6 separate regions of the Homo sapiens genome follow, and regions 1, 2, 4, 5 and 6 are each linked to region 3. Evidence: promoter capture Hi-C in human tissues and cell types (Jung and others, 2019). All regions are on one chromosome and are shown on one strand. The core of a region is centred on a gene start or on the middle of the fragment in contact, and the rest is flanking DNA. Distances in the headings are between cores, read along the strand shown.

Region 1 (4,485 bases), core at 996-3,495, 570 kb after region 3:
GCCCACAAGTGGGCACCATACGTTCCTCTCTCAAAGTTCCTGTCCCCGACCACTGCACAATAACCTGTATACAGGTCTGTTTCTCCTACCAGACTGTGAATATCATGGAGACATAAGAATGGTGTCTCATTCAGCTCTAAACACAGTGCATAGCTTACTTGAGACATGCAGTAAAAGTCTGATGAATGAATAGGTTGGTCAGTGGATATATATGGGTGGTTGGTGGTGGAGAGGGTAGAAATCAAGTTTGGAATTAAATAAGAATTCTAGCTTTGCCACTCCCTGGCTGTGTGACTCTGGATTATTTACTTAACCTCTCTGGGCCTTTATAAAATAGGAATATAAGTATGTCTCTCACTGGGTTGTTAGGTTAGCAGAATGCCTGCCACACAGTAGGCACTCAGGAAATGGAAGAATGGATGGATGGATAGATGGATGGATGCATGGATGGATGCATGGAAGGATGCATAGATGGTATAATTTGACTTTAAACAGACTTGAATTTGAATCTGAGGTCTATCATTACAAGATGTGTGACTCTAAGAAGTACTTTTGCCAAATATCATCTCCTTACCTCTCCTGATCCACACTCCATATTCCCCCAACCTGGATCTCCCTGGGAAGCTGGCTTCTACTGACTGCATCAATAAGCTGGCTCCCTTACTCAGCTTCATGTTAAGATCAGCCAAAGGAGAGCAACAACAGAAGATGAAAGTGAGAAAGTGGCCGGGAACGGTGGCTCACACCTGTAATCTTTGGGATCTTTGCCATCTCTTTGAGAGGCTGAGGCATACGGATCATGAGGTCAGGAGTTCGAGAGCAGCTTGGCCAACATAGTGAAACCCCTGTCTCTACTAAAACTACAAAAATTAGCTGGGTGTGGTGGCACACACCTGTAGTCCCAGCTACTCAGGATGCTGAGGCAGGAGAATCGCTTGAACCCAGGTGGAGGTTACAGTGAGCCGAGACCTCGCCATTGCACTCAAGCCTGGGTGGCAGAGTGAGACTCCATCTCAAAAAAGAAAGTGAGAAGGCCGGGCGCAGTGGCTCATGCCTGTAATCCCAGCACTTTGGGAGGCCGAGGCGGGTAGATTACCTGAGGTCAGGAGTTCAAGATAAGCTTGGCCAACATGGCAAAACCGTCTCTACCAAAAATACAAAACATTAGCCAGGCATGGCGGTGGGCACCTGTAATCCCAGCAACTTGGGAGGCTGAGGCAGGAGAATCCCTTTTACCAGGAGGTGGAGGTTGCAGTGAGCCAAGATCACGCCGTTGCACTCCAGCCTGGGCAACAAGAGCAAAACTCTGTCTCAAAAAAAAAAAAAGAAAAAAAGAAAGAAGGAGGGAAAGAAAGAAAAAAGAAAGGAAACTGAGGTCAGGCTATTTATTTTTCTAGCTCCCTCCTTGCCAAGTAACTATGGACTAGCTGTGTCCTTCAACCAAAGGACCCAGCATCTTCCTGGTGGCCCTCTCCCCACAGCCTTCTGTGTCTCTCAGCTCCTCATCTATTCATGACTAGGGCTTGTAATCAAGTCCCGCCACTGCTCTTCCCAGGGAGCTGCAGTATTCCTGGTGGTTTCCTGCTTCCTGTCTCTGCATTGCAGAATACTAAACTGGCTGCCAAGATTGTTGCTCCCCTGGTGAACACCCCCTGCATAATGCCCTCCCCTTGAGGATGGGCTGGACTTGCAAATATGATGGCATTTCACACTGTTATTAGGTTGACTTTGAGTTAATCAAAAGGAAGATTATCCTGGGTGGGCCTGGCCTAATCAGGTGACCCTTAGAAGTCAAAGAGAGTTGAAGAGTGAGAGACAGCCACCTGCTGGCCTTGAAGGAGCAAACATCCATGCTGTGAATTGCCTGTGGACTTTGAGTGTGGTCTCTAAAAGATAAAAGTGGTTCCTGGACAACAACCAGCAAGGAAGTGGGGGCTTCAGTCCTACAACCACAACTAACTGAATTCTGCCAACAACTGGAAAAAGTCTGAAAGAGAACCCTGAGCCTCAGATGAGATCACAGCCTCAGCAACACCTTGACTTTAAACTTGTGACACACTGAGGAGACAATCAGGCCATACCTGGCCTGTTAACTTACAGAACTATGACCTAATGGAGGGGTGTTGTTTAAAGTCACTAAGTTTGTAGTTATTTATTATGGAGAAATAGAAAACCAATATACTGTCGGGCGCAGTGGCTCATGCCTATAATCCCAGCACTTTGGGAGGCCGAGGCAGGCGGATCACCTGAGGCCAGGAGTTCGAGACCAGCCTGGCCAACATGGTGAAACCCCATCTTTACTAAATCAGCCAGGTGTGGTGGCAGGCACCTGTAATCCCAGCTACTCAGGAGGCTGAGGCAGGAGGATCGCTTGAACCTGGGAGCTGGAGATTGCAGTGAGCCGAGATCGAGCCACAGCACTCCAGCCTGGGCGACAGGGTGAGACTCCGTCTCAAAAAAAAAAAAAAAAAAAGAAAAGAAAAAAAAATCAATACACTGTCTGCACCTCTGTAAATGGTACCTGTATTAAACTTTTCTTAAATCAGACTAATACAACTTTGCCATCTAACTGCTTGGCTCTGATGGGTGCTTCATTTAACCTCTGCATGCCTCAGTTTCCTCAACTGTAACGGGAGATAATGGTAGCAAAACTCTTGTTAGGATGCCTTGTGGCCAGCACGGTGGCTCACCCCGTAATCCCAACACTTTGGGAAGCCGAGGTGGGCGGATCACCAGTGGTCAGGAGTTCAAGACCAGCCTGGCCGACATGGTGAAACCTCGTCTCTACTAAAAACACAAAATTAGCCAGACGTGGTGGCGAACGCCTGTAATCTCAGCTGCTCAGGAGACTGAGGCAGGAGAATCGCTTGAACCAGGGAGGCAGTCGTTGCAGTGAGCCGAGATCATACCATTGCACTCCAGCCTGGGCAACAAGAGCGAAACTCTGTCACAAAAAAAAAAAAAAAAAAAAAAGCCTTGCACTTTTAATTTATTATTTATTTTATTTATTTATTTATTTATTTATTTATTTATTTATTTTGAGACTGAGTCTTGGGCTGGAGTGCAATGGCACGATCTCAGCTCACTGGAATCTCTGCCTCCCAAGTTCATGCCATTCTACTGCCTCAGCCTCCCAAGTAGCTGGGATTACAGGCGTGTGCCACCACACCCGGCTAATTTTTGTGTTTTTAGTAGAGATGGGGTTTCACCATGTTGGCCAGGATGGTCTCGATCTTCTGATCTCATGAGCCGCCTGCCTCAGCCTCCCACCTTGCACTTTTTAAGGGTCCACCACATAAAGAATGAGAAGGATGGAGTCCTCCTGGGGGTCTTGTGGTCTTGTCATTCTGGCTGGAAAATCAAAGCCCTGAATGTGGGTGGTCCCACCCCTCCCTAACTTTCAGATGCCCAGTGCCTTTGGGATGAATACCCCACCCTTCATGCTCTGTTTTGACTGAAGATTAGGGGGATCTTAGTGCTTCTGGGGTGTAAAAAGCCATTGTGAATGGTTTGTGCATAACCCAGTTTCCAACAGAAGGGCCCATTCTATGGAGAAGCCCATTTAAATGGCCTCAGCACTGCTCCCTTCAATGCCTGGTGGCTGAAAGGAGAAGGGGAGAAATGGGAAACTCCTCTTCTTAACCAAATGTCTCAGGAGGGCTTTTACCTGGGGACCAAGTTTGTTAAGAGGTTGATCTCAGAGCAGTGGAGAAACAGCTCAGAGGAGAAGGAGCTGGACTGCTGGCACTCATCATCCATGACTGTCAACCAAAAGTGGCTCTGCAGCCTTTCCTACTATGACATGCTGCTTTAAATCTCTCTTCCACCCTGGTATCAAAGTACTTCATTGAACCGGGGAGGCAGAGGGCCACATCCCCTGTTCAGAGATTATCTTAAAAGACTCATTTACTCAGACTCTGCATAAGGGATATTGCAAATAAAACAGACACTATTCCTGCCTTCAAGGAGAGAACAGCCAGTGGATACTACAAAATGGTAGGAAAGACATAAAAAAACCTGGATTTATGATATTAGTATAGAATTATTAAGAGGAAATCTTGGCAAGCTCCCTGAGCAGTAGACCTTGTAAAAACAGGTGTACAAAATATATAGAGGGAGAGATCTGTGTTCAAGTAACTTTGATAAACTGGTTCAGTGAAATGATGTGGGTGTCATTATTACAGGACTTTTCAGTGCCTTTAATGTGACAATGTGCCTTGTGAATCTCTCTAAGTTTGGCCAGTTGTCAGAATCCCCCTGGAGGCTTCTCAAAATGACAAATACACCACAGGCCTATGGAATCAGAATCCTCAGAAGTCAGGCTCAGGAAACTGCAGTGTTAAAAGACCTGCCAGGATGATTTCTGATGGTCAGCTAACTTGACCCGGAGATTACAATTTATGACTATGGGAATTTCCCAAGCTTCTCTGACTCCTGAATATATCTGTTGGTACCTGCTGAAACTCTTCAGCATGCGTCAGTCTG
Region 2 (4,525 bases), core at 1,919-4,418, 660 kb after region 3:
ACCCCATCTCTACACAAAATACAAAAAATTAGCCGGGTGTGATGGCACACACCTATAGTTCCAGTTACTTGGGAGGCTGAGGTAGGAGGATCACCTGAGACTGGGAGGCAGATGTTGCAGTGAGCCATGACTGCGCCACTGCACTCCAGCCTGGGTGACAGAACAAGACCCTTAGAAAAAAAAATACGAACATTTGGGTTTTTTATTATAAAAGTACTTATGTTGGCCAGGCACAGTGTCTCACACCTGTAATCCATTGGGTGGATGGCTTGAGCCCAGGACTTTGAGACCAGCCTGGGCAACGTGGCAAAACCTGTCTCTACAAAAAATAAAAAATTAGCTGGGCATGGTGGCACATTTCCTGTAGTGCTAGCTACTCAGGAGGCTGAGACAGGAGGACTGCTTAAGCCCGGGAGGTTGAGGCTGCAGTGAGCCAAGATGGCACCATTGTACTTCACTCTAACCTGGGCGACAGAGCAAAACCCATCTCAAAAAAAAAAAAAAAAAAAAAGCTGGGTGCGGTCAGTGGCTCACGCCTATAATCCCAGCATTCTGGGAGGCCAAGGTAGGCGGATCACCGGAGGTCAGGAGTTCAAGACCAGCCTGGCCAACATGGTGAAACCCTATCTCTACTAAAAATACAAAAATTAGTCAGGCATGGTGGCGGTTGCCTGTAATTCCAGCTACTCTGGAGGCTGAGGCAGGAGAATTGCTTGAACCCAGGAGGTGGAGGTTGCAGTGAGCCGAGATTGTGCCACTGCACTCCAGCCTGAATGACAGAGCAAGACTCCATCTCAAAAAAAAAAAAAAAAAAAAAAAAAAAAAAAAAAAAAAAAAAAAAACTTGATATGGGCCGGGCGCGGTGGCTCACACCTGTAATCCCAATACTTTGGGAGGCTGATGCAGGCGGATCACTTAAAGTGGGAAAATCGCTTGAACCCAGGAGGCAGAGGTTGCAGTGAGCCAAGATCACACCACTGCACTCAAGGCTGGGTGACAGAGTGAGACCCTGTCTCAAAAACAAAACAAAACCTGATATGTGGCAAAATACTGAAAGAATGCAGAAGACTGAAAAGCTGAAGTCCTCTTCTTCCCCAGAGCTGCTTCTGTCCTTTGAAAAACATTCTGTACATATTCAAGGCATATTAATCTCTTGTTATACAGGTGATGTTGACAGTGGCCAGCAGATATGTATGTCCCTTTCCTGTAGGTGACAGACCCAATTGCTGCACACAGGTGGTCACAGTAAACAGAAAGCTGGCAGCACTCCCACTTGGAAGGGCTGATAGGCTTGGCCTTAGAGTTGTGGGAGGACACTCCCTGATCAGGGTACGAACCCTTCTCTCTGCCCCTTCCAACTCCTGTGGAGTGTGTCTGTATCTAGTTGGTGCTAACTGCTACGTGCTTGGCAGGGCAAGGCAGGGTCACCACCTCAGCAGGCGTTTGTCCTCCTCCGGCATGATGCTACCCTAGCTGCCCAAGGTTCTAGCCTGTGTATGTTATTACATGGATTTTTTTACACATAAATACATAGACTTCAACTCACTTTTCTTTTTACAAAGTATACAATATACCTTGGATGTATTTATATCCCAAGACAGGGTTCTCATTCTTTTTCATGTGTTTTACTGTATGGGTAATATGGGTAATAATTTTTTTTTTTTTCTGAGACAGAGTCTCGCTCTGTAGCCCAGGCTGGAGTGCAGTGGCGAAATCTCAGCTCACTGAAATCTCCGTCTTCCGGGCTCCATCTTACATGCCCATAATCCCAGCTACTCAGGACGCTGAGGTAGGAGAATTGCTTGAACCTGGGAGACAAAGGTTGCAGTGAGCCGAGATTGCACCACTGCACTCCAGCCTGGGCAACAGAGCTAGACCCTGTCTCAACAACAACAACAAAGAAGGAGGAGAAGGAGGAAGAAGGAGAAGAAAAGAAAAAAAAAAGTCGTCAAAGGATATTAATTGTCGATAGATAACAGATAATGCCAAAAAATATAGAAGCAATTCTTAAAACACAGTGTTGGAACTGGTCCACAGCTCTGATTTTTAATGAGCTCCCATTTCTGAGGCCAATATAAACTTCATTCTATGCTGCCCATCTCTGACAGGTGGGCATTAACTACCAGCCCCCCACGGTGGTCCCTGTGGGAGACCTGGCCAAAGTGCAGCGGGCGGTGTGCATGCTGAGCAACACCACGGCCATCACGGAGGCCTGGGCCTGCCTGGACCATAAGTTCGGCCAAGTGCGCCTTAGTGCACTGGTACGTGGGGGAGGGCATGGCAGTGGGGGAATTCTCCGAGGCCCGCGAGGATCTGGCAGCTCTGGAGGATTATGAAGATGTGGGCATGGATTCCGTGGAAGCTGAGGCTGAAGAAGGCGAAGAATAGTGAGGGGAGGGTGCGGCAGGCAACCATCCCTCTGTATTCCCCACCATAACGCTAGGAGAGCTAATTACCTATTAAAATTTCCGTATTGCAAATTAGCCGGGCGTGGTGGCGGGCGCTTGTAGTCCCAGCTACTGTGGAGGGTGAGGCAGCCGAATGGCGTGAACCCGGGAGGCGGAGTTTGCAGTGAGCCGAGATCGCGCCACTGCACTCCAGCCTGGGCGACAGAGCGAGACTCCGGTCTCAGGAAAATAATAATAAAATAAAAAATAAAATTTCTGTATTGCGATACTGTCTTTCTCCTGTGTTGTACTTTGAGAGATTCCTCCTCCAGATAACCCTCCCTGAAGTCCACCTCCCCAGTACGAGAGTGAGTGCGGGCTCTGGTTTTTGTCGGGTTCTTTCGTGCAAGCGTCCCAGGCCCCGTTTTATTTCTTCCGTCAGAGGTCATTCCGAGGCGAGCTGCCGCCCCTGCGGCTTTCGAGGCTCCCAGGACACTGCCGCTTTCCGCTCCCGGGCCGCTCCCGAACGCTGGGGCCGCTCCATCGTGCCGGGGTGTTTACGGAGAAAAGTGAGGCCTGAGCGGACGAAAGAGAAGCCCACGTGGGCGACAATACTGGTAGTCCAGGGAGCTGGGACGACGCGGGCGCGTCAGAAACTCGCACGCTCGCGCCGCTTACTAACCCAGCTAGCTAGGACCTCGCCCCGCCCCGCCCCGGTGGCGGGGGCACCTCCGGCTCTCCAGTCTCTATGGTACCAACTTCCGGCGCGCGCTACCCCTCGCGAGACTTCGGCGGCGCAGCAATGGCCAGAGCGTGAGTGCCGCTGACAGAAGTCAAGAGAATCGGCTGGGACGGGGTTGGGGCGACAACGGGCCGGGGGGGACCCGACAGGCCAGAGCCCCTTGGGGAGGAGCGGCGGCTGGAGGCGCGAGGCTCCTCCGGATGCCCGGAGAGCCGCTTGCGACTTAACTCCCGCCTCTTTCCCAGATGCCGCGTCACTGCTCCGCCGCCGGCTGCTGCACACGGGACACGCGCGAGACGCGCAACCGCGGCATCTCCTTCCACAGGTCAGCGCGCGTGCGCCGCGGGCTCACGTGCGCATGCGCTAGTTGTTGCTCGCCTCGGGTCGCAACTGCGTAGAGGCTTCGCGCCTTTCTCAGATACTGAGGAGGCTTGAACCTGTGGGTGGGAGGTGAAGCGGAACGGTCCCGGCGGGACTGAATGCAGTCGGGAAGGGGAGGACGGGAAGTCTAGCCGGCTTGGACCCGCCCCACTCTGTTACCTGCCAGATGACGCTGAGGAAACTGCTTTTCTTCTCGAGGCCTCCGTTGCCTCGTCTGTGCCCGGGCGGTGGTGCTTACCCGGCGGGGTCGCAGGGAGGTCTCGTGGCGGCGCGTGTTGGGTCTGCGTTTCCCCTCTGGGGTGCTTGGGCAGCATGAGCCCAGGGCTGTGGACAGCCTGGTGCTCACGGGTTTGTGGCTCCACAGACTTCCCAAGAAGGACAACCCGAGGCGAGGCTTGTGGCTGGCCAACTGCCAGCGGCTGGACCCCAGCGGCCAGGGCCTGTGGGACCCGGCATCCGAGTACATCTACTTCTGCTCCAAACACTTTGAGGAGGACTGCTTTGAGCTGGTGGGAATCAGGTGGGCCTCCCTGCCGGCCGACGCTGGGGTAGGATGTGGGGCTCCCGGCGGACTGGGACAGCTGCAGGTCATGGAAGTCCCTTGAGCAGCCTGCGTCCAAGGGGGCTGTTTCCTGTTCCCAGCTCTGCACAGTGAAACCCACCCCCAGGATCACTGTGCCTGTGACACAAGGGGAAAACAGGAGCCTTTCCAGAGAGTATCTTTCAGAGCCCCAGTCTTGCCAGCAAGTCCACAAATCAAAGAATTCTTTCTGGCTGGTCAGCCCAGCTCGGCTTATGCAGGCTTTCCACACACCTGGACTGTGAGGAGTCCTGCGGGGAAGCGATTGGTGTAGCTGTAACTTGGCGTTCCCCAGACGTATTGTTTGCACGATGCCTTCCAGCATCCCACGGCGCTGCTGCTGGGGGCAGATTGGCCTGGGGAGGCAGCACTTGCTCTCCAGCTCATCTGGGTTGCTTTTCCCCGCAGTGGATATCACAGGCTAAAGGAGGGGGC
Region 3 (4,716 bases), core at 473-2,972:
ATTAAGTAAGCCACTAACTACACAAGACTGGGGAAAGCAGCTTATAGATGACTGGGAAATTATATCACCCACAGAGAATGTTTATGGAAAAGAAACGTATGAGATCTGAGAGAAGGGAGGAGGGTCCAGAAAGGAGACTGGGAAAAGAAAGACCGCTGAAGTCGATGGAAAACAAAGAGCATGTGAAATCCCAGATACCAAAGAAGGGCTTCAGAAGGAGGGAGTGGTCAACAGTGGGACATACTGTTGAGAAGCCCAACAAAATGAGGACTGAGGCTGCCCAGACGCGGTGGCTCACGCCTGTAATCCCAGGACTTTGGGAGGCCGAGGCAGGTGGATCACCTGAGGTCAGGAGTTCGAGACCAGCCTGACCAACATGGAGAAACCCCTTCTCTACTAAAAATACAAAATTAGCTGGGCATGGTGGCGTATGCCTGTAATCCCAGCTACTCGGGAGGCTGAGGCAGGAAAATCTCTTGAAGCCGGGAAGCGGAGGTTGCGGTGAGCCAAGATCTCACCATTGCACTCTAGCTTGGGCAACAAGAGCGAAACTGCGTCTCAAAAAAAAAAAAAAAAAAAAATGAGGACTGAGGATTGAATACTATATTTAGCAACAAGAAGTCGCTGGGAACCTGAAAAGAGAGGCCGCTGAAGTCGAGAGAAAACAAAGAGCAGGTGAAATCCCAGATACCAAAGGAGGGCTTCAGAAAGAGGGAGTGGTCAACGGTGTGACATACTGTTGAGAAGCCCAACAGTTCTGGGGTCGAAATTCTGACTTGAGTGGTTTCAAGAGACTCAGAAAACAGCATGAAGCCACTAGTCTCTCACTTGTTCTTAAGAGAAACAACACGGCGGCAGCGGGAGGGGAACGTGGGACGTGGGGCACGGGGCACGGGTGGATTTTTAAATTTTATTTATTATTTTTGAGACAGCGTCTCGCTCTGTCGCCCAGGCTGGAGTGCAGTGACACGATCTCGGCTCACCGCAACCTCCGCCTCCCGGGTTCAAGCGATTCCCCTGCCTCAGCCTCCCAAATAGCTAGGATTACAGGCGCCCGTCACCACGCCCCGCTAATTTTTGTATTTTTAGTAGAGACGGGGTTTCACCGTATTAGCCAGGCTGGTCTTGAACTCCTGACCTCAGGTGATCCGCCCGCCTCGGCCTCCCAAAGTGCTGTGATTACAGGTGAGCCACTGCGCCCGACCTGGTTTGCTTTAAATTAGAAGGCTCTGCAGCACGTTTGCAGGCTGATAGGCATGAACCAGAACACAGCGAGACGTGAAGTACGGAAGAGGTAGAGACTACTCATTCAAGGGCGAAACTCGCGAACAGACGGGGGACGGTCCGGGCAGAACCAGAGTAAGGAAAACCGGGCTGCGCTCGAGCCCGCAGCTGACGTCATCGGAGCCGCGGCCCCGGGAGAGCGCGGCGGCCCGAGGGTCATTACCCTGACTGGAGACAGGGCGGCAGCTTCCGGGAGGAAGTGACCTTTGGGCTGTGCTCTGGGGAGTAGCTGAGAGGGAAGGCGAGCGGCGCGCAGTGCGGGACAGGCGGTTCACTGAGGCAGAGTGGAGCGCCGCTCCCGACTGCGGCTCAACTTACATTTTGTCCTTTTGGTGCTGTCGCTTCCCCATGGCGGAGCGGCGGCGGCGACTAGCGAGCACGAAAAAACAACGGCTGACAACTCAGACCATGGAGCCGCAGCCGAGTTCCGTGACCACTTCCGGGTTCCGCGGCGCGCCCCGGAAACGGGCGCCTGGCGTGCTGGGAATTGTGGTTCGCTAGCGCCAGGTGCTCATGCTCGGAAGGATCGCCTGCCCAGTATGGGGTCCTAGCTAGGTGTGCCATCTCCCGCAGGCGTCTTTTCGGGGCCGAGCTCCCTCAGCCTCGAAGCCCCATCTTCTTGAGGGGTCTGTCTGGACCGCCTTGTCTACCCCCCTAGCCACGGCTCAGGGCCATTCCCATACTGGGTTCTCAGGTCTTATTTATTTATTTTCGAGACAGGGTCTCGCTCTGTCGCCCAGGTTGGAGTGCAGTGGCACAATCACAGCTCACTACTGCCTCGACCTCCCAGGCTCAAGCGATTCTCCCACCTCAGCCTCCCGAGTAGCTACGGGCACGCACCACCACACCCGGCTAATTTGTTAATTTTTTGTAGAGACAGGCTCTTACAATGTTGCCCAGGCTGGTCTGGAGCTCTTGAGCTCAAGCAGTCCTCCCGCCTTGGCCTCCCAAAGTGCTGGGATTACAGGCCTGAGGCTTCGCGCCCGGCCAGCGCTCAGGTCTTTTTCAACGTCCTCCTAGAGCTTCAAGTCTCATGAGCCTCCACCCCATCCCTTCCCGCCTCCGTGGCAGATGCCTTCAAAGCCATGTACCACTCTCGTTCTACTCGCTCACTTCTCATTCTCTCTGCATATTCGGTCCCCACCGCCTCCAGGCCCCTCGGAGGCCCAGCAGCAGGTGGCCATCAAGCCTAGAGGTCCAAAGCCCTACCTGATCCCTTCCGTCTCTTCTGCCAGACCCTTCCCTTGGGTCAGATCAGTACCTTGGGCCCCTAGCTACACTCAGGCCCAGGGTAATCTTGCCTAGGCTCCTAATTTTAAATGCCATTTGTATCCCATGACTCCCAGTACTAAGTCACCAGCACTCCAGGTTCCTGATCTCCACTTGGGTAACCACTGATCTGAAATGTAACATGTCTGGATGGGCGTGGTGGCTCACGCCTGTAATCCCAGCACTTTGTGTGTGTGTGTGTGTGTGTGTGTGTGTGTGTGTTTAGTAGAGACGGGGTTTCACCATGTTAGCCAGGATGGTCTCGATCTCCTGACCTCCTGATTCGCCTGCCTTGGCCTTCCAAAGTTCCGGGATTACAGGCGTGAGCCACCACGCCCGGCCAATCCCAGCACTTTGAGAGGCTGAGGCAGGCGGATCACTTGAGGTCAGGAGTTCAAGACTAACCTGGCCAACATGGCAAAACCCCATCTCTACTAAAAATACAAAAAATTAGCCTGGTGTGGTGGCACACACCTGTAATTCCAGCTACTTGGGAGGCCGAGACAGTAGCTTGAACTGGGGAGGCAGAGGTTGCCGTGAGCCAAGATTAGGCCACTGCATCCCAGCCTGGGTGACAGAGTGACTCTGCCTAAAAAAATTAAATTAACATGTCTGGTCAAAGTAGAATTTTCTTTTTTTTTTTCTTTTTTTTTTTGACATGGAGTTTTGCTCTTGTTGCCCAGGCTGGAGTGCAATGGTGTGATCTTGGCTCACTGCAACCTCCGCCTCCCAGGTTCAAGCGATTCTCCTGCCTCAGTCTCCCAGGTAGCTGGGATTATTACAGGCATGCGCCACCACGCCTGGCTAATTTTGTATTTTTAGTAGAGAAGGGGTTTCTCCATGTTGGTCAGGCTGGTCTCGAACTCCCGACCTCAGGTGATCCTCCCGCCTCAGCCCTCCCAAAGTCCTGGGATTACATGCATGAGTCACCGCACCCGGCCATAAAGCAGAATTTTCAATCCTCCCTCTTCTCCCAGTCCCCACTCTGCTGAGCAGTACCACCATCCACCCAGTCACCGAAAGCCAGCTATCTTTGCCTTATTTCATGGCTGGCTTCTTATTCTCTAGGTTTTAACATAAGTGTCACCTCCCCAGAGAGACCTTCCCTAACCACCCACTTCCATGCATCTCCCATAAAGTCTGTCACAATTCCTCACAATTTGTAATCCTGTGTAATTCAGTCTGTGTCCCGGTTTACTGAGCACCCTCCCTGACACAACCACTGCCTCCATGACACACATACAGTGGATGGGATGTAGCTCCTTAAGGGCTGGAATCTTAGGCCCAGCATGGTGGCAGCACCTGTGATTCCAGCTACTTGGGAGGCTGTAGTGGAAGGATCACTTGAGGCCCAGGAGTTTGAGGCTGCAGTAAACTATGATCAAGCCACTGCACTCTAGCCTGGGCAACAGAGTGAGATCCTGTCTCTTTAAAAAAGGGCCGGGGTGTGGGGAGGGGACAGTCGGTGCGGTGGCTCACGCCTGTAATTCCAGCACTTTGGGAGGCTAAGGCGGTTGGATCACCTGAGGTCAGGAGTTCGAGACCAGCCTGGCTAACATGGTGAAGCCCTGTCTCTACTAAAAATACAAAAATTAGCTGGGCGTGGTGGCATGTGCCTGTGATCCCAGCTCCTCAGGAGGCCTGAGGCATGGTGATCGCTTGAACCTGGGAGGCAGAGGTTGCAGTAAGCTGAGATCGCGCCACTGCACTACAGCCTGGGCAACAGAGCACAACTCTGTCTCTAAATAAGCAAGCAAACAAATAAATACAAACCAATTAAAAATAACCCATTTGTGGTGATGCACCATGATGACTCAGTCAGAAAGCAAAATGCACCAATAACCTAAAAATTGACCCCATTGGAGAAATATTTCAAAAAGCAAGAACAGTTGAGTAAATGATGTTCCACCCGTTTGATGGAATATTTTGTATCTATTGTTATTGGTGAACTTAAAGATTTATTATTATTATTATTATTATTATTATTATTACTTTTTATTTTTTGAGATGGAGTCTCGTACTGTTGCCCAGGCTGGAGTACAGTGGCGTGATCTCGGCTCACTGCAAGCTCCACCTCCCGGGTTCAAGCAATTCTCCTGCCTCAGCCTCCCGAGTAGCTGGGACTACAGGTGCCTGCCTCCACCCTCTGGGCTCAAGAGATTC
Region 4 (4,778 bases), core at 1,236-3,735, 700 kb after region 3:
CCTGGCAGCACAGAGCCCAGCTCAGAAAAGGGATAACAAATAATATTCCTTGGGAGGCCGAGATGGGCGGATCACAAGGTCAGGAGATAGAGACCATCCTGGCTAACACGGTGAAACCCCGTCTCTACTAAAAATACAAAAAAATAGCTGGGCGTGGTGGCGGGCGCCTGTAGTTCCAGCTACTTGGGAGGCTGAGGCAGGAGAATGGCATGAACCTGGGAGGCGGAGCTTGCAGTGAGCCGAGATCACGCCACTGCACTCCAGCATGGGAGAAGGAGTGAACTCTGTCTCAAAAAAAAAAAATTCCGCAAGTGCTTCTGGTGTGCCAGGCCCTCATGCTAGGCACAACAGCCCCACTTTACAATGAGGATGCAGAGGCTCAGAGAGGGGAAATCACCTGCCCAAGGCCACACAGCCAGAAAGGGGCAGGGCTGGATTTGCCTAAGTTCTTAGGACTGCCTTTGGTGAGGGTGGCCACCCCCGACACTGGAAGTCCTGGGGCCACGGGTCCCAGGCAGGCCAGCCATTTGGGGTCCTTTAAAAGAACCTGCAGGTGGCATCTTCTGCCAGGGCCTCCTGCCAGCCCAGCGGTGCCACAGACGCCTGGTATGAGGCCAGCTGGCATCATCCCACCCACTGCTAGGGGGAGACAATGGACGTCATCTGCCCAAGGCACATTTTGAGGCAGAGAGGGATCCAGCCCAGGCCTAGGTGTCCACAGCACAGGAGCGGGGGAGGAAGAGTGGCTTCTTGGAGCAGAGGCAAGTGGGTCCCTCTGCCTGGTGGGTCATCACAGCCCTCCTCCCTCGCCCAAGTTCTCCCTTAGACCCAGGAAAGGGAGAAAAGCCTCACAAGTTCCAAGGTAACGGAGCTGATGGGTATCAGGTAAGGGGAGCTGGGGTGAGCTGGCTGGGGTGAGCTGGCTGGGGTGAGCTGGCTGGGGCAGCGTGGCCTGGCAGGTTGAGTGGAGCACTGGCTGCGCTCTTGAGGTCTCTCTAAGCCTCAGTTTCTCCACCTGTGACAAAGCTGCACACTCCTGCCTCCCCAGGTGTTGTGAGGAGAGAAGAGGGAAAGTGGGGGGCCAGAGGGAGAGCTCCGCAGACATGAGTCTTTAGTGGAGAAAAGACCCAGGCCTCCCCTAGCACCCCAGGACACTCCCACTTCTGGCTGGAGTAGCTCAGGCTAGGTTGGATGGTGATTTCCTGTATAAATGGGGAAGTGTGCCCAGAAAGGCCAAGAAGGCAGCCCGAGACCACACAGGGGATCAGAGGAGGCAAAGAGAGCCAGGATCTGCCCACTACACCCTCACAGCAACTCTAAGAGGTCAGGGTGGCCAGGCCCTCTCTTTTGCAGAGAGAAAAACAGAGGCTCAGAGGGGTAACTTGCATGCCCTAGGTCACAGAGTGGCTGAGCGTGTCCCCAGCTCCCCCCTTCCCTGGCCCTGGGGGCATAGCCCCTTCCCCAACCCTGCAACAGGAGGAACCCTGACTTTCCTTTTCCAAGAAGGGTCCTGCTGTTATTCCCACCACCAACACTCAAAGCCCCAAAGAAAAAGGGGCACCCACTGGAGCAGGGGCCAGCTGGGGGAACTGCTCCAGGCCCCCTACCCCCTCCTGGCGGCAGCGTATTAACATTCCGAGCGGGTTCTTGGATAGCCTGACCTACTTCGGAGGCCTACCGAGTGCAGAGGGGGAGGGGGGGGAGACGGGGGAGGAGGAGGCGGGGAGGGAGGAGAAAGGATGGAGACAAGAAGACAGGAGGTACCTGGTTTGGGTTTGGAGAAGCAGCCGCCCATGGCGAGTGGCCTGAGGATGGCCGGCAGGCAGGAGCACAGATGGGGAGCTGTCGGAGGCCTAGGGCGCCCCCCATGGGGCTGGACCCCCTGCAGGCCTTAGAGACGCTGGAGCCGCCATCCTGCTGGAGCTGCTCTAGGACCTGCAGGGGAGACTGGAGCCATCAGGACCGGGGCGTGTGGGCAGGTAGAGACACAGAGGGACGGAGAGAGACAGTGGGAGCTTCGGAAAGAGTCTTACATTTGAGCTGGGAACCATGGCGTGAGCCTGATCCCAGAGCGTGGGGCCCTGGAGGTCACCTCCCCTTTGAAGCCCTCCAAGCTCAGCTCCCTCACTCCTCCAGTGGAGTTCCTCTGCCCGAACCTCGGCCGCCCATCGTCCAGCCCCGCGGCTGCCTTGCCCAGGAAATCCTCCCTGATTTCTACTGCCTCCTCGTGCCCCCCTTCCCCTCTCCAAATCCCACAGCCTGAGAGCTCTGGGACCCTCCATTCTCCCGGGAGACCACTATGCCTAGGCTCAAAGAGGGGGTCACCTTGGGGAAGCCAAAGCCCTTCTCATCCTTGGTCTTCTCCCTCCTACAATGGGGGTGACATCAGGCTCCCCCTAGCCCAGCCCCACCCTGGCTAGCACTCCGGACACCCACCTCCTCGCAGGGCAGCCACTGCTCCGTGTTCCAGGCCCAGCAGTGGACTGAGGCTGCCGGGCCTTGGAAGGCCGGGCAGGGAGGGCAGGGGTCCAGGAGGCGGCCCAGCCTCCACCCTCCTCCCAGCTCAAGCTGTGGCCAGGAGGGGCTGGGGGGCGGTGTGGGGCTGGGCCAGTCCACTGGTCCCCAGGGAAACCCTGCTCTGTGGTGAACAGAAGTGGGCGGCCAGCCCGGGCCTGATGGGGTTAGGGGAAAGGGAAGCCAGGCACACAGCCCTGCCACGCCTGTGCCCAGCAGCCATAAGCTCCCCCTACCCCCGACTCCAGCCCTTCACAAACGCCCACCAGGCCTGTGGGCAGTCATGCCCAACAGCATATGGGGAAAGCAAGGGGTCAAGGTCCCATCAAGGTCAAGCAGCAGGGGCATCCCTGTGGCCTCCCACCCCACCCTCCCACCTTGATCAGTTTTAAGGTGGGCAGGGGCCCAGAAAGCCCCCATATCACCCTAAGGCCCTGCAAGGTGCCCTGGGGGAGGGGACACCTGCACAGCAGAGAGATCACTGTAGCCAGGTGCCTTCCAGGCTACAGGGTGGGCCTTCCGGAAGATGCAGCCTACAGGTGGACTTTGGAAGGCCCAGGGCACAGGCATAAGCTGCCTTGTTTGCAAATGACCTCCCCACAGTCCATCCCACTGCCATCCTCCAGTTTCCTCTGGAAGTTCTTCCTGAAGTCTCACTTGAGGTGGGGCTGAGACCCACCTGGTCTGGTCCAGATACCAGGAAGGGCCGTGGGTGGGTGCCTGAGAGCAAGGGGTGGAAACAAAAGGCCAGGTTGGAGAGGGACCCTTGGTGCCTGGCCCCTGCGCCTGTCGGTCCTCGAGGTGCCCATTACAGGGGAGGAGGCGGTGGCTCCCACAGCCACTGGGGCGTGCCTTGGCTCTTTCCCCCACTTGTCATCAAAGAAGGTCTGTAAAACTCAACTGCCACCTGCCCCACCTGCCCCTTCCCTGGGCACTAGGCTGTCCCTTCCTGGGTCCTGGTTTCAGCCCTGGTTCAGCCCTGCCCGCTTCCTTCCTGGCTGACCTCAGGCCTCACCTGATGGGCCACAGATCCCAGAAAAGGTCAGACCTGGTCTTGCCACTGGGGACCTGCCCAGGCTGTGCTGTCCCTTCCCGAGTACCCAGGGACCTGAATCCCCCAGGGCCTGGGCCAGGAAGGAGACTGGGTGGGGCCCCTGTGCCTTCGGCCTACTGTGTGCTAGATCGGCTTGGAGCCCAGTCACCCCACTCAAAGGCAAAGGTCCTTGCCAGGGGCAGGGCAGGAGGGACCCCCAGAGTGCAGAGCGCCCGAGTGCTATTCCTTGCCCATGAGCTGCCCACTGCAGAAAAGTTCTAGCAGAGCCCAGTGCTAACCACCCAGCAGGAGTCTGTGTCTGTCCCAGGGACCCCAGGACCTGTGAGGCGGGACTGGATTACTCCCATCTCACAGAGCGGCCCCTGCTCCACCTGACCCTCCCAGGGCTCCTGGCGCCCCCAGGGTGCAGGCTGGGCAGGGTCCTCTCCCCACTCCTCCACCTCTCGCCACCTGCCCCCACTGCCTCATCCCAAGGGCTCCTGCCCAGATCGGACTCCCAGTGGCTTCCAGGCGTCCTAGGGGTGGCATCTGATCCCAGTCCTGCCTTCGAGTGTGGGGGCTCCGCGCTCTCCCCTCCCCCACGGAGCTCAGGGCAAGCCTCTGTCCACTCTCCCCGCCTCTGCACGTGCAGTTCCCTCTCTCTGGGAAGCCGATGCCAGCAGCCTCGCCGGCTCCGTCCCGTTGCCCCCGCCAGACCTTGCAGCCCGAGAAGGGGGACTGGCACACAGTGGGGCCCCGCGGCGAGCCGGGAAGGGGCCGTTGTGGGACGAGAGAAGGACGAGGTGAGCTTCGGACCCCGGCCAGTGCCTCTGGCCCCGCTTGCCAACCCCCAGCCCCTAACGTGCCGGGCCGGGGTCCGAGACTTGGGAGCGCAAGCGCTGGCCCCCGGCGCCGGGGCGAAGAGGCGGGGCGGCGGGCGGGGACCGGGGTTCCGGGGACCAGGGTCCCCGGGGCGGGCGCTCACCTGGGCTCGGCGCGGGCCTGGGCTCGGGAACCGCTTGGGGCCGCGGGCGCGGGGGGGCGGGGAGGCGCGGGCGGGGCGTGTCTGGCGCTGCGTTTGCACTGCGGCCGGGGAGCCCGCGGGCCCAGCACCGCCCCGCCGGGCCGGAGCAGGTGGGGGGCGGCCGGGGGACAGGGGCAGGCCGAGGCCCTCGGCGTCCGGACCGGAGTCGCGGGGCGTAGGGAGGCAGCCAGGGGCCGCTCTGGCCGG
Region 5 (4,684 bases), core at 1,762-4,261, 820 kb after region 3:
CTAATCTGTAGTTGGGAGAATATGTGGCTTGGTGCTTAGGGTAGTGGGCTTTCTGGAGTTCATGGTTATTCAGTCTGTACTTTAGAGTGGTCTGCCATGGAGTAAAAATCATAGTGTTGGCGTTTTTCCAGTATCATGAAGCCAAGAATTTCCTATCCTCTTTCCCTTTGCTTTGTGAGGCTATGTTAAGAAGAGCCATCCGTAGAGCGAGAGGAGAGAGATAATGAGGGTCAGCGGAGGGTATACGCGGTGCCAGAATCATTGTTATTAAATCAACTAGAAAATATTTTAAGAAGAAATTGGAAGAAGAAAAAATCTTTACCTGTAACCATGCCATATTAACTATTAGTTTGCTAGGCTGCCATAACAAAGTACCACAGACTGGCTTAAACAACACAGATATATTTCCTCCTCATTCTGGAAGTTAGAAGTTCAAGATGAAGGTGTCAGCAATGTTGATTTCTTCCGAGGCCACTTTCTCCCTCTGCCTTCACGTAGCCTTCCCTCAGTGCCCTCCTGTGTCACCAGCTGTTTGTCTCCCCAGGGGGCAGAAATGTTCTATTTCTCACTCCTTACTGCAGATTCTCTTTTCTGCTGTCTGTGTTTGCAGTTTGCACTCATTGGAGGTGTGGTTGCCTCTAATCTTTCCCACCAGCAGCTATTTCCATCATTGACGTCAGTTGCTGAAATTTATGCATTTTATCTTCCTGATTGCTTATTTGTTTATTTATTTATTTACTTTTTGAGATGGAGTCTTGCTCTGTCACCCAGGCTGGAGTGCAGTGGCGTGATCTCTGCTCACTGCAAGCTCTGCCTCCTGGGTTCATGCCATTCTCCTGCTTCAGCCTCCCGAGTAGCTGGGACTACAGGCGCCCGCCACCACGCCCGGCTAATTTTTTGTATTTTTAGTAGAGACAGGGTTTCACTGTGTTAGCCAGGATGGCTTATTTATATTTTTATTTTTGTATTTGCTTTTGTTGTATATGTTGGCATGCTGGAGAAAAGCTTGGCCTTTCATGAACATTGCCAAGTTGGCCAGAACGCTACTTTCATTTGTGTGGTAAACTGACAAATAAATACAGAGTTGAGGCAGAAATCCTCAGGTCTCACTTGCATTTGTTTATTGAGTCCTGAGAGGCTCTGTCTCTGCTGCAGAAGCCATTCTCTTTTCCTGAATGTTTTTCTGTGTTTAAAGCTTATCTGGAAGCCTGGATTCAGGATAACCAACGCAGCCGGGCACAGTGGCTCACGCCTGTAATCCCAGCACTTTGGGAGGCTGAGGCAGGCACATCACCTGAGGTCAGGAGTTCGAGACCAGCCTGGCCAACATGGTGCAACCCTGTCTCTACTAAAAATACAAAAATTAGCAGGGCGTGGTGGTGTGCGCCTGTAAGCCCAGCTACTTGGGAGGCTAAGACAGGAGAATTGCTTGAACCCGGGAGGTGGTGTGGTGAGCTGAGATTGCACCACGGCACTCCAGCCTGGGCGACAGAGCAAGACTCCGTCACACAAAAAACAACAACAACAACAAAAAAAACCCAAGGCTATACTATTATGAAAGCAAAAGATGGCACCATCCGTTCATATGATAAATCTTTGGGGGTTTGCTGTGTTGCAGGCACTGTGCTAGGCCCTGGTATTAGAGGGGTGGATAAATAGACATTAAAAAAAAAATAGATAGGGTCTCACTGTGTTGCCCAAGCTGGTCTCAAATTCCAGGGCTCAAGCCGTCTGCCCACTTCGGCCTCGCAAAGTGCTGGGATTATAGGCATGAGCCACTGTGCCTGGCCTAGACATTTTTAAAAATAGAAATTACATTTTTTTGGAGACAGTTTTGCTTTTTCACTCAGGCTGGAGTGCAGTGGCATGATCATAACTTACTACCACCTTGAATTCCTTGGTTTGAGGGATCCTCCTGCCTCAGCCTCCCAAGTAGTTGGGACTACAGGCACGCACATTGTACCTGGCTAAGTAAAAAAAGAAAAATTTTTTTAGAGATGGGGTCTTACTATCTTGCCCAGGCTTAGCTCAAACCGTGGGCTCAAGTGATCCACTCACCTCAGCCTCTCAAAGTGCTGAGATTATAGGCTTGAGTCACTGTACCCAGCGAAAATTTTAAAAAATTTTAGTAGGCCGGGCGCGGTGGCTCACACCTGTAATCCCAGCACTTTGGGAGGCCGAGGCGGGCGGATCACGAGGTCAGGAAATCCAGACCATCCTGGCTAACACGGTGAAACCCCGTCTCTACTAAAAATACAAAAAATTAGCTGGGCGTGGTGGCCTGTAGTCCCAGCTACTGGGGAGGCTGAGGCAGGAGAATGGCATGAACCTGGGAGGCGGAGCTTGCAGTGAGCTGAGATCACGCCACTGCACTCCAGCCTGGGTGACAGAGCAAGACACCGTCTCAAAAAAAAAAATTTTTTTTTAAATGAGTATTTATAGTCCCAGAGACCTATGGGGACTCCTTTAGCATGCGCCACCACAGTCAGCTAATTTTTTGTATTTTAGTAGAGACGGGGTTCCAGGCTAGTCTTGAACTCCTGGCCTCAAGTGATCCACCTGCCTTGGCCTCCCAAAGTGCTGGTGTTAACAGGCGAGCCACCGTGCCTGGCTTGAGTGTTTAGATTTTTGTTGTGTTACTTTAGGGAATGTTGGGCTTTGTTCTGGTCGGCAGTTGCTTGTGGTTTGATTTGATCCTTCATAGGCTAGGTTTTTCAATAGTGCTTTCTTGAGATATAATTCACATACCACAAAATTTACCCATTTAAAATGTACAGTTCATCATATTTAGTGTATTCACAGAGTTGTCCATCCATCACCATGATCAATTTTAGGTCATTTTCATTGCCCTCAAAAGAAACCTTGCTGTTACCCTGCAGCCCTACCAGCCCCATCCCTAGACAACCACTAGTTTACTTTCTGTCTCTGTAGATTTATTCTGAACATTTTGTAGAAATAGAATTCTATAAGATGTGGTTTTTTGTGGTGGCTTATTTTTATTTTTATTTTTTTTTGAGACAGAGTTTCGCTCTGGAGCCCAGGCTAGAGTGCAGTGGCGCGATCTCGGCTCACTGCAAGCTCTGCCTCCCAGGTTCACACCATTCTTCTGCCTCAGACTCCCGAGTAGCTGGGACTACAGGCGCCCGCCACTGCGCCCGGCTAATTTTTTGTATTTTTAGTAGAGGCAGGGTTTCATCGTGTTAGCCGGATGGTCTTGATCTCCTGACCTTGTTGTGATCCACCTGCCTCGGCCTCCCAAAGTGCTGGGATTACAGGTGTGAGCCACTGCACCTGCCATGATGGTTTTTACTTGGCGTATTTTCAAGGTTCATCCATGTTGTAGCATCTCATTACTTCATTTTTATTACTAAATAATATTTGTATGCATATACCATATTTTATCCATTCATTAGTAGGTGGATGTTTGGATTGTTTCTACATTTTGACTATTATAAATAACGCTGCTATGGAAATTCACGTACAAGTGTTTCTGTAGACATATTTTCATTTCTCTTGGGTCTTTAACTAGATGTGGAATTGCTGGGCCATACAATAACTCTAGGTTTAACCTTTAGAGGAACTCCAGACTGTTTTCCAAAGTTACTACACCATTTACATTCCCACCAACGGTGTACAGAGGGCTTGTTTTCTTTACATTGTCACCAACACTCTGTATTGTCTGTCTTTCCAGTTATAGCCATCCTAGTGGATGTGAAGTGGGATCTTATTATTCTGTTGTTGATATGCATTTGCCTGATGGTTAATGATGTTGAGCCAGCCTATTCTATCCTAGAACAGCCACTCTTTTGGGGTATTTGTAGATCTTCTTTGGAGATATATCTATTCAGATTCTTTGCCCAATTTTAAATTGTAGTATTTTTTTAATTAAGTTGTAATAGTTCTTTATTTTAGATAAAAGTTTCTTAATAAGATATATGATTTGCAAATATTTTCTCCCATTCTGTGGGCTTTTTCACTTTCTTCATGGTGTTCTTTGAAGTACAAAAGTTTTAAATTTTGATGATGTCCATTTTGTCATTTTTTTTTTCTTTTGTCCCTTGTGCTTTTTGTGTTGTATCTAAGAAACCACTGTCTAATTTCAAGGTCACAAAGACTTACACCTGTGTTTTTTGTTAGCAGTTTTATAGTTTAGCTCTTACATTTGAGTTTTTGATCCATTTTGAGTTAAGATTTTATGTGATATGAGATGGGGGTCCAGTTTCATTCTTTTGCATGTGAATATCCAGTTGTCTCAGCACGATTTCTTGGAAAGACTATTCTTTTTTCCATTGAGGGGTCCTGGAACCCTTGTCAAAAATCAGTTGACTGTAAGTGTGAGGGTTTATTTGGTCTGTATGTCTTTCCTGATGTTGGCTAGTATACTGTCTTGATTACTTTAGCTTTGTAGTAAGTTTTGAAATTGGGAAGAATGAGTCCTCCAATTTTGTCCTTCCTTTTCAAGATTGTTTTTGTTATTCTGGGTCCCTTGAATTACCATGGAAATTTTAGGGTTAGCATGTTAGTTTCTGCAAAGAACTCACCTAGGGTTTTGACAGGGATGGTGTTGAATTTGTAGGTTAGTTTGGACTGTATTGCTATATTGTCCCTTTTTTTTTTTTTTTTTTTTTTTGAGATGGAGTCTCGCTCTGTCACCCAGGCTGGAGTGCAGTGGCACAATCTCAGC
Region 6 (4,908 bases), core at 961-3,460, 740 kb after region 3:
TTGCTCTGTTACCCAGACTGGAGTGCAATGGTGCGATCTCAACTCATTGCAACCTCCACCTCCCGGGTTCAAACAATTATCCTGCCTCAGCGTCCCAAGTAGCTGGGATTACAGGCATCTACCACCACGCCCGGCTAATTTTTGTCTTTTTAGTAGAGACAGGGTTTCACCACGTTGGCCAGGCTGGTCTCGAACTCCTGACCTCAAGTGATCCACCTGTCTTGGCTTCCCAATGTGCTGAGATTACAGGCGTGAGCCACGGCACCCTTACTCTTTTCTATGTATGAAATATTTCACAGTTAAAAAAAAAAAAAAAAAGGTAGAAAACTTAATTCCAGCTGGGCGTGGTGACTGGCTCATGCCTGTAATCCCAGCACATTAGGGGGCCGAGGCAATTGGATCACCTGAGGTCAGGAGTTTGAGACCAGCCTGGTCCAATATGGTGAAACCCCATCTCTACTAAAAATACAAAAATTAGCCGGGCATGGTGGTGGGCGCCTGTAATCGCAGCTACTCAGGAGACTGAGGCAGGAGAATCACTTGAACCCGGGAGGTGGAGACTGCAGTGAACCGAGATCATGCCACTGCACTTCAGCCTGGGCGACAGAGCGACACTGTCTCAAAAAAAAAAAAAAAAAATTCAATTCCAAGATGAGCTAAGTACTTCTCTAGTGAAACTGCTTTAACCACCATTCTTTTTTTTTTTTTTTTTTTTTTTTTGAGACGGAGTCTTGCTCTGTCACCCAAGCTGGAGTGCAGTGGTGCGATCTTGGCTCACTGCAATCTCTGCCTCCCAGGTTCAAGCCATTCTCCTGCCTCAGCCTCCCGAGTAGCTGGGACTATAGGCGCACGCCACCATGCCTGGCTAATTTTTTATATTTTAGTAGAGACAGGGTTTCACTGTGTTGGCCAGGCTGGTCTCGAACGCATGAGCTCAGGCAATCCACCTGCCTCCGCCTCCCAAGGTGCTAGGATTACAGGCGTGAGCCACCATGTCCAGCCAGTAACCACCATTCTTTATCACTGACCAGCATTTAATGCCCAGGTCCCCTCCCTTCTGTCCCTGGGCTTTCAGGCCATCACTAATGGCTCCTCCTCCTATGCTTGTGGCTGCCTCTCCTTCCGCAGCTTCTCTTTCTCTACTTATTCCTGTTCTGCCTCCTCATTCTGGGTGATCCCATCTAAGCTGCGATTCCCAAATCTATATGTATTCAGCCCTTACCTCTCTTCTCAATAACAAACCCATCAGATTGCTAAATACCACCTGGCTTCCAGCAGGTACCTCAAAGAAAGATTCTTCCTGTTGAAAAGAATCACGCACCCACCCTAATCCCTTTCTCTTGTCTCAAAGGCACCACTCAATCCTCTCTGAAGTCATCATACCTCTCCCCTCACCTTCTATGTGCCACTTTACATTCCTATGGCATTTGATCTTGGCTCAGCTTCTCAGGGTCCCTCTCCAGTAACAGAGAATTAGTCCTTCAGATCTTTCCCCACCCAGAGCAGTTTCTCAAAAGTAAAACTCATCAGTTCTCCTTTTAAAATCTGACAGTTCTCTTTTTAAAAACTTTAGATGGCTCCCATTGTTAAGCTCATTTACAAGGCTGAGGAGGCCCTTTACAAGTTGGCTTTATCTTTCCTTCCTAGGTTCCTGCCCATCATCTACATTAATTATAACTGTGTCTTTACCAGCAAGCACTGCCACCATCTCTTCTACCACCACCTCTTCTACCTCGTATACTTGTTCTCATCCTTAAAGAATCAGTTGAAGAGCATCTCCTCTTTCAAGCCTCTCCCCACCTCTTAGGTACAGTTGATTGCCTTTGCTTTTAAGCTGTCATGGCATTCTAATTTTTTCAATAGACCAAAGCTTCTCAAAGACAAAAATCAAAAACAAAAACATGGTTTACTTCCATTAGATTCCAAGAGTCTAGCAGTGAGCTTTGGTATATTGTAGGCCTCTATATATCAAAGAACTTCCCTTTCCTATTTCCCTCCTTTTTTGTTTCTGAAAGCACAAAAGCTCAGGTATTCAAATTACCTAACTCTGGTTTAATACTGTCACAAAACTGGTGTGACAGAATTCGAATACCGTTGAGTGTGCACCTTCAAAGCCTCTTCTCATCCTCTTCCACTGTTCTTGTCACGTTCATTCCAGGTGAGTTGCTATGTGCCTGGTGGCCCCACCCAACTTGTTATGATTTTAGCTCAGATTCAACTCAAGTTAATCTGAACTCCCAACTAATAGGCTGTGCCCCCTTTTACTTATCTGAAAGAATTAAAATAATGTTTTTTGTTTGTTTGTTTTTTGTTTTCCGAGACGAAGTCTCGCTCTGTTGACCAGACTGGAGTGCAGTGGCGCTGGCGCAATCTCGGCTCACTGTCATCTCTGCCTCCCAGGTTCAGTCTCGAACTCCCGACCTGCCAGACCTCCCAAAGTGCTGGGATTACAGTCGTGAGCCACCACGCCCGGCCCAGAATTAAAATATTTTAATCTTAAAGACCCTCAGAAATCTAGTCTAATCATTCAGATCAAAAGGAAAAATTTAGGTCACAATTCTGTGGATTTGAGTTTTAAAAGTCACAAATCGAATGGCTACTAGTACTTTCCATGGGAACACAACTCTTTTTTTTTTTTTTTTTTTGAGACGGAGTCTCGCTCTGTTGGCAGGCTGGAGTGCAGTGGTGTGATCTTGGCTCAGTGCAACCTCTGCCTCCCAGGTTCAAGCGATTCTCCTGTCTCAACCTCCGGAGTAGCTGGGACTACAGATGCATGCCACCACGCCCAGCTAGTTTTTGTATTTTTAGTAGAGACGGGGTTTCACTATGTTGGCCAGGATGGTCTTGATCTCCTGACCTCATGATCCGCCCGCCTAAGCCTCCCACAGTGCTGGGATTACAGGCGTGAGCCACCACATCCGGCTGGGAACACAACTCTTAATTGGACAAGATTCCATTCTCAGCATGACAGTGTTCTTGTTTTTTGTTTTTTTGGAGAGAGTCTCACTCTGTCGCCCAGGATGGAGTCCAGCTGCACGACCTCGACTCACTTTAACTTCCACCCCCCAGGTTCAAGTGATTCTCCTGCCTTTAGCCTCTTAGGCACACGCCGCCATGCCCAGCTAATTTTTTGTATTTTAGTAGAGACAGGGTTTCACCGTGTTGCCCAGGCTGGTCTCAAACTCCTGCACTCAGGCAATCCACCCACCTTGGCCTCCCAAAGTGCTGGGATTACAGGCGTGAGCCACTGCACCTGGCCATGTTCTTGTATTTTTCTCTGAATCAAATTCACATGATTTTAACTACTGGTCAGGAGAAACGCAAAGGGGTTTATTCACAGAGTTGAATTCTATGCTGATTAAAATTACTGGCAATCCTTTCCCCATTCCAAATTATGGAAGTCTAGATTTGAGTTCTTAAATAATTAGAACAGGGGATGTAAAGAGGAGGCACAACCATGCTTCTTGTTTCCTCCTGTCCCTTCAGGGATTGGCTTCTACTTCACAGGTGTGTGAGGCTCCTCTTCTGGGCTCTCAGGTTAGACTAAGCACCCTTTCTCAGTTCTCCCACAGCTGTTTCACCATGCATGGAGATTAAATATATTAAATATATACAACTTACATTCATTCATTCATTCATTTTTTGAGACAAGGTCTGGCTCTGTTGCCCAGGCTGAAGTGCAGTGGCATGATCATAGCTCACTGTAGCCTCGACCTCCCATGCTCAAGCAATCTTTCCACTTCAGCCTCCCAAGTAGCTGGGACTTAAAGGCGCATGACACCATGCTCAGCTAATTTTTTAATTTTTTGTGGGAATGGGGTCTCACTATCTTGCCAGGGCTGGTCTCAAACTCCTGGGATCTAGCGATCCTCCTGCCTTAACCTCCCGAAGTGCTGGGATTACAGGCACGAGCCACCGAGCACAGCCAACCTTTACATTTTTTTTTTTTTTAGTAGCCAGGCGCGGTGACTTACGCCTGTAATCCCAGCACTTTGGGAGGCCGAGGCGAGCAGATCCCCTGAGGTCAAGAGACAGAAAACCATCCTGCTCAACATGGTGAAACCCCATCTCTACTAAAAATACACAAATTAGCCAGGTGTGGTAGCGCGTGCGCCTGTAGTCCCAGCTACTTGGGAGGCTGAGGCAGGAGAATCACTTGAACCTAGGAGGTGGAGGTTGCAGTGAGCCAAGATTGCACCACCACACTCCAGCCTGGCAACAGAGCAAGACTCTGTCTCAAAAAAAAAAAAAAAAATGCCAGGCGCGGTGGCTCATAACTGTAATCCCAGCACTTTGGGAGGCCCAGGCGGGCGGTTCACGAGGTCAGGAGATCGAGACCATCCTGGCTAACACGGTGAAACCCCGTCTCTACTAAAAATACAAAAAGTTACCCGGGCATGGTGGCGGGCACCTGTAGTCCCAGCTAACTCAAGAGGCTGAGGCAGGAGAATGGCGTGAACCCAGGAGGCGGAGCTTGCAGTGAGCCAAGATCCCGCCACTGCACTCCAGCCTGGGCGACAGAACAAGACTCCGTCTCAAAAAAAAAAAAATTTTTTTTTTAGTAACCAGTAAGCTCCTCAGAAGCATGATAGGGCTGTCTGATTCAATGTTGGTTCCATATTACCAGGTACATGTAATGCTCAAAGTCTGCTGAGTACAGTACATTATTTTCTTGAAGGGCCAACTTCCTTTAGTTTTTAATGGTAAAATTTTATTTATTCTAATTTTTCTTCATAGCCTGAATTTATCTATCGACACAAGCTAGAAATGGAAAATGTCAAACAAAGCAAGCTACCTTCTGAAGCATTCTGTTGTTAAACTGGAAACAGCCCTTATTAAATAAAAATACACTAGAGCTAGGCCAGGCGCAGTGGCTCACACCTGTAATCCCAGCACTTTGGGAGGCCC

What was found. The method cuts DNA at HindIII sites, captures the fragments that hold promoters and counts their contacts. A contact is called where the count stands out against the background at its distance.
Region 1: a contact is called between a fragment that was not itself captured here and the fragment with the promoter of PPIL2 in region 3, in 1 of the 25 tissues and cell types used here (lymphoblastoid cells).
Region 2: a contact is called between the fragment with the promoter of THAP7 here and the fragment with the promoter of PPIL2 in region 3, in 2 of the 25 tissues and cell types used here (dorsolateral prefrontal cortex and spleen).
Region 4: a contact is called between the fragment with the promoter of AIFM3 here and the fragment with the promoter of PPIL2 in region 3, in 5 of the 25 tissues and cell types used here (adrenal gland, dorsolateral prefrontal cortex, heart right ventricle and 2 more).
Region 5: a fragment that was not itself captured here is called in contact with the fragment with the promoter of PPIL2 in region 3 in 1 of the 25 tissues and cell types used here (dorsolateral prefrontal cortex).
Region 6: a fragment that was not itself captured here is called in contact with the fragment with the promoter of PPIL2 in region 3 in 1 of the 25 tissues and cell types used here (dorsolateral prefrontal cortex).

What each region holds. Positions count from the first base shown.
Region 1 is chr22:21,095,610-21,100,094 of GRCh38, reverse strand. No RefSeq gene overlaps it. Among named protein-coding and RNA genes, the nearest start is that of LRRC74B, 52 kb to the right of the region's middle. The HindIII fragment of the contact is 6,514 bases long and covers 1-4,485 here.
Region 2 is chr22:21,000,761-21,005,285 of GRCh38, reverse strand. THAP7 (THAP domain containing 7) reads left to right here and starts at 3,168. Exons shown (of 4, transcript NM_030573.3): 1 at 3,168-3,454; 2 at 3,875-4,030; 3 at 4,499-4,525. The coding sequence starts at 3,375. THAP7-AS1 (THAP7 antisense RNA 1) reads right to left here and starts at 3,364. Exons shown (of 2, transcript NR_027051.1): 1 at 2,457-3,364. RefSeq lists silencers at 2,173-2,563, 3,205-3,314, 3,335-3,504 and an enhancer at 4,105-4,314. The HindIII fragment of the contact is 9,660 bases long and covers 2,761-4,525 here.
Region 3 is chr22:21,663,018-21,667,733 of GRCh38, reverse strand. It overlaps PPIL2 (peptidylprolyl isomerase like 2), which reads right to left and starts at 1,722. Exons shown (of 20, transcript NM_014337.4): 1 at 1,603-1,722. The coding sequence starts at 1,634. RefSeq lists enhancers at 1,286-1,335, 1,406-1,645, 880-1,790. The HindIII fragment of the contact is 22,549 bases long and covers 1-4,716 here.
Region 4 is chr22:20,964,962-20,969,739 of GRCh38, reverse strand. It overlaps AIFM3 (AIF family member 3), which reads right to left and starts at 2,485. Exons shown (of 21, transcript NM_001386814.1): 1 at 2,437-2,485; 2 at 1,765-1,935. The coding sequence starts at 1,795. The HindIII fragment of the contact is 23,315 bases long and covers 1-4,778 here.
Region 5 is chr22:20,848,184-20,852,867 of GRCh38, reverse strand. The region is part of intron 1 of PI4KA (phosphatidylinositol 4-kinase alpha); the gene reads left to right. Among named protein-coding and RNA genes, the nearest start is that of PI4KA, 8.3 kb to the left of the region's middle. The HindIII fragment of the contact is 9,318 bases long and covers 1-4,684 here.
Region 6 is chr22:20,922,924-20,927,831 of GRCh38, reverse strand. All of the region lies in intron 1 of CRKL (CRK like proto-oncogene, adaptor protein), which reads right to left. Among named protein-coding and RNA genes, the nearest start is that of CRKL, 8.0 kb to the right of the region's middle. RefSeq lists an enhancer at 2,554-3,201. The HindIII fragment of the contact is 3,637 bases long and covers 392-4,028 here.